Regions from separate parts of the Homo sapiens genome. Here region 1 is linked to region 2. The links are contacts of gene promoters, found by promoter capture Hi-C in blood cells and fetal thymus (Javierre and others, 2016). All regions are on one chromosome and are shown on one strand. Each heading gives the region's core, a stretch centred on a gene start or on the middle of the fragment in contact. The rest is flanking DNA. Distances are from core to core; before and after follow the strand shown. Region 1 has its middle 50 kb from the start of SLC10A4. Region 2 holds the start of TXK (TXK tyrosine kinase).

Region 1 (2,700 bases), core at 165-2,664, 300 kb after region 2:
CCAGAGACCCAAGAAAACACTGCCTGTTTCCTCTGCTGAGACGCTCTTTGCCCCAGATGCCATATGTCGAATCCCTTACCTGCTTCAAGTCTGCTCATGTGTCACCTCCTCAGTGAAAATTTTGACTCAGCCCCTCCCCCAGCTTCTAATCTTATTTTTTTTTAACCAAACTCTTCCTCTTTTCCATAGCACTTATCACCTCCAAGCATCCCATATAATTAACTCATTATTATGCCAGCTTTCTCTTCTCCCTCCACTCGTGTGCATGCCCTTGCATGTGGGCACACACACCCACACACACCCGCATGCATGTATACCATATATGGTTCATGGAGGCAGAGATCATTTTTGTTTATCAACTCTTGGCAAATACCTAGACCAGTGCCTGGCACATGGTAGGCACACAAATATTTACTGAATGAAAGCATTGCTGATGGGAGTCTCTTTAGAGAGCAATTTGAAACACAACAAAATTTAAAACATACCTTTGGCCTGGCTACGGTGGCTCACACCTATAATCCCAAGTTTGAGAGGCCACGGCTGGAGGATTGCTTGAGACCAGAAGTTTTTTGAGACCAACTTAGGCAACATAGTAGACCCCATCTCTACAAAAAAATAAATTTAAAAAATGTACATTTGGACCCATTGATTCCACTTCTAATTATCTTATAGGTGTACCTGTCTATGTGCTTGTGTAGATAAGAATACAAGAATATGTATATAGTAGTATTTGTGGACAAACAAGGCTGGACTTAAATGTCCCTCAATAGGAAACTGGTTAAATTATGAAACATTCACTGAAATATTAGGCACCTATTACCAAGATCAAGATATAATAGCTCTATGTGTAATGATATGGAAAGACACCCACGATGCATCATGAAAAGTAAAAACAAGGTGTCAAAATGCCATTTGGAATAAAAAGGTTTGTGTGTCATATTTGCTCTGTTAACAATGACTGCTTCTGAAGGGATACAAAAGAAACAGGTAACTGGTTACCTGTGAAGACGGGAGTGGGAGACACAGCTAACAGTGGTAAGGAGATAAGGAACCAGCATTTTACCTGAGTATTTTAATTCTTTTTTCTTTTTTTTTTTTCTTTTTTTTTTTAAGAGACGGGGTCTGTTGGCCAGGCTGGAGTGCAGCGTGATCATAGCTCACTACAGCCTTGAACTCCTGGGCTCAAGCGATCCTCCCACGTCAGTCAGCCTCCTGAGTAGCTGGGACTAGGGGCGCACACCCACCCCACCTAGCCCTGTTTGAATTCTTTATCATGTCCATATGTATACCCACTGCTTTTTCAAACAGTAAAAGAGAAATATAACCGCTGTTTTCCTTGCTCCCCTCAAAAAACTTGTTTTACTTAATGAAATGAGTTCAATCTAGTCTGTGAATGCACTCTTCATTGTTTCAGCCTTCTCCATTCATGGCATCATGAGTTTTGTATTTGCACCACGAGAAGCATTTTCATGAATTTTACTCTAATATTATGCATTTGGCTTTATCAAGGGTTTATGAAGAACAAAAGCTGCTTCTGCCTCTGGTGTAAAATTATCAAGAGCATTGTTCCTTATGTGACTCAATATCCCCTATATAAAGGCCCATGTGAGAATTTTTTTCTAGAATGCAGTATCTGGAAAAATCATTGTCTCTTTTGAGGAACTGGGGCTCTCCTTCAATACAAGACCTATGTGATTTATCATGTTTGCATTTTTGTCCCTGTTGCCCGAAAGTTTAGATCCATATATGACGCTCAATTGCAGCAACTGAATTTATTTTTTTTTTAAGCCGGTTTTGTCCCCAAAAGGATTTAAGGTGGTTTATAGAAATATGAGATGAAGGTGTGGTTTTTTGAGTCTCGTTCTGTCACCCAGGCTGGTGTGCAGTGGCACGATCACAACTCCCTGTAACCTTGGACTTCTGGGCTCACAATCCTCCCACTTCAATCTCCCCAGTTGCAGAATTACAGGCATGAGCCACTGCACCTGGCAAAGGTGTCTTGTTTGTTTATATATTTGTTTATATAATTTCAACTTTTATTTTAGATTCAGAGGGTACATGTGCAGATTTTTTACATGAGAGTCTTGCATAATGCTGGAATTTGGGGTTCTATTTAACCCATCACCCAAACAGCGAACATAGTATCCAGTAGGTAGTTTTTCAGCCTCTCCCCTTTTGGAATCCCCAATGTCTACTGTTCCCATCTTTTTATCCATATGTACCCATTGTTTAGCTCCCACTTATATATGAGGACATGCGGTATTTTCTGTTTCTGAGTTAATTCACTTAGGATGATGGCCTCCAGCTGTGTCCATGTGACTGCAAAGGACATGATTTTTATTCTTTTTTATGGCTGTGTAGTATTCTGTGGTGTGTGTGTATCACATTTGCTTTATCCAGTCATTTGTTGATGGACACTTAGGTTGATTTCATTTATATAATTTATATATTTTAATAATATAAATATATTAAATATATAAATGCTATTGTGAATAGTGCTGCGATGAACATACAAGTGCATGTATCTTTTTGATAGAACGATTTCTTTTGAGTAAACACCCAGTAGTGGGATTGCCAGATTGAATCAAACTATAAAAATCCTAGAAAACCTGGGAAAAACTCTTCTGGACATTGGCTTAGGCAAAGAATTTATGACTGAGATCTCAAAAGCAAATGCAACAAAAACAAAAATTGACAAAT
Region 2 (2,700 bases), core at 14-2,513:
AACCATATGAGTTTCTGGCAAGATTTAAACTTTCAAAGGCACAATTTTCTTATTGGCTAGATAAGAATAACAATTTTCACCTTGCCAGTTTGTAGTGAAGATTTCAGATAATGAATATAAAGGAACTGGTATAGACCATGGCCCATAGTAGGTGCTCAATAAATACCTTTATAAAGAAACAAACACATTGCAATTCTGATATGACGGCTGCCTTCTTATTTAGAAGACTATTCTGCTTGGTTTTTTTTTTTATTCTAATTTCTTTGGATTTATAAGCATCCCCCACAGCTCTTTCAAACCAAGGATCTTCACAGATAACAGTGTCTAGGGAATCTTTCTCTGTTCTCCTAAAACAAGCACTTATTTTTAATGATGGTCTTATATTCTATAAAAATATTAAAATAACATCTTCATATGTAGTATTATATATGAGGGAAAGAGACATTTGAGCCAGTGTTCACACTTGACCATGTTCACACTTTTAACCAGGTAGAGACTCGTGACTTTGACTCTTATTTTGGCCTTTACTCAGGCTCTGACTGCAGATAAGAATCAGTTTTGCCTAAATTTCAATTGCTTGGGAAAGGTCCTCGATAACGGAAGTCTACATAGAATTGTGAATAAATACCCCTGTGAAAATAAAGGTTAAGTCTATATGTTTACTTGATAAAGCAGATAATTTCAGAGTATAAACACAGTTGTGTTTTGACTTCTCTTCCTTTTGCCTTAAATATAGATATTTATTTGTGTGTGTGTGTATGTGTGTGTATTTATATATATATAAAGTTGCCCACTGTGATCCACCACTGCTGGAGCAAATCCAGAACTAGAACTTGGTCTCCTGGCCTTCAGCCCAGAGCTCATTACAGTCTCATTCTAAAAACAAGTACTTCATACTGATTGCATTTCTACACACACATATGCAGATTTCTGGACACTCTTTCTGTTTTTCTTTCATTTATGTTCTCAATGCTGAACCTTTATTAGAATTACATCATCACTGTGGTTCTTTAAATAAGAAACAAAACTCTGTCACAACATCTGAGGAAATTATCTTTTAATGTCCCCAAGCTCTATGCCTTGGAAAAAAAAAACTTCCTCTGCTGTTCAAGAATAACAGGCCCCAGAACAAGCCCCAAAAATAAATGACAAAGCCCATCTTACTCACAGGAGGAAAGGATCATGGTAGCCCCTTCTGCGGGGAGCACACAACAGTCTTCAGTTCTTCTGCGGTGCTCTACTCACAAAAACACATCTTTCAACTGAAATCATAGTTCGCTCAAGATGTTTCTCACGGGCAGAGTTAACCCCACCTATTTTCCTGTTCTGAAAACCTCAGAAGAGTATAAATGACAACCAATGGCATATATAAGAAAGCTCAGTAATCTCCATCCCAATCTCTGAGGGTATCTGCTATTAGTCTCTCATCCCCAAAGGTGTGGGTGACTCGCAAACATCATTTTCAAGAAATCACAAAATTTTGGTAAAAGGCACCTTTAAAATTATCAAATCAAACTGCCCTCTCTGGACTGGGAAGGAAATGAAGGCACAGACAGAATAAGGGACTTGCCCAAGGCCACACCGTGAGTGGCAGAAACAATTAGATTCTAGGCTCTGGAATATTGAGTTTAGAATGTTCCATCCTCCCACTCAGCAGACACTTTATTTGGGGGAAGTCAATCTAGTAATAACCCTAAAATGTGATTGGGGGATGGCTGAGAAATATAAAAACACCAACAATACAAAACACACTTGGGAGTTTCACTTCATCCCACTGGAAAGCATAACCATGTGTCAACTAATTAACAGAGCAACTTTAATGAAGACACAGCATATTCTAATCGCCCTTCCAATTTCCTGGTTTAGATTAAGGTCTCCTTAGCATTCTGGGTGATGACTGTTATTTTTACTTCACCTTTTGCCTTTGTTATGCTTTCGTATAAAACTTTTTTTCTAAGTCTTAGTGAAAAATATTTAAAGATTTTTGAAGGAAATGTTGACAAATGTTGCCAGGTGCTATCTATCTTGTTTTCCCATAAAAAGCATACACTGACCATTAGGACAGGGACTCTATCTTCTCCTCACTCTCTTTCATACCACCTAGTACTTCCCGTAGCTCCTCAAGGTGAAAAGGGAAGTATGGGATGGGAGGAGGGAAGGTCAGGAAGGAAGGAGAAAAGGCTGACAGTGATAGTAAGGTAGAGTGTGCCAGGACCGACTCCTTCAATGAGCTACAAGTCAGTTAAAAGTTGTGCATGGTTAGCAACCAAAATGCCCATCAATGATAGGCTGGATAAAGAAAATGTGGTACATATACACCGTGGAATATTATGCAGCTATACAGAATGAAATCATGTCCTTTGCAGGGACATGGATGGAACTGGAAGCCGTTATCCTTAGCAAAGTAATGCAGGAACAGAAAACCAAACACCACATGTTCTCACTTATAAGTGGGAACTGAACCATGAAACACATGGACACAGGGAGGGGAACAACACATACTGGGGCCTGTTGGGGAGGGCAGATGAGGGGAGAGCATCAGGAAAAATAGCTAATGCATGCCAGGCTAATATCAGGAAATATATATATCAGGCTAATATCAGGAAAAATAGCTAATGCATACCTAGGTGATGAGTTTTTGATAGGTGCAGCAAACCACCATGGCACACGTTCACCTATGTAACAAAACTGCACATCCTG

What was found. The method cuts DNA at HindIII sites, captures the fragments that hold promoters and counts their contacts. A CHiCAGO score of 5 or more calls a contact.
Region 1: a fragment that was not itself captured here is called in contact with the fragment with the promoter of TXK in region 2 in 1 of 17 cell types (megakaryocytes); the score reaches 5.2 in megakaryocytes.

The regions. Positions count from the first base shown.
Region 1 is chr4:48,431,828-48,434,527 of GRCh38, forward strand. No RefSeq gene overlaps it. Among named protein-coding and RNA genes, the nearest start is that of SLC10A4, 50 kb to the right of the region's middle. The HindIII fragment of the contact is 5,888 bases long and covers 1-2,700 here.
Region 2 is chr4:48,132,987-48,135,686 of GRCh38, forward strand. TXK (TXK tyrosine kinase) reads right to left here and starts at 1,264. Exons shown (of 15, transcript NM_003328.3): 1 at 1,169-1,264. The coding sequence starts at 1,184. RefSeq lists a silencer at 706-1,000. The HindIII fragment of the contact is 7,086 bases long and covers 1-2,700 here.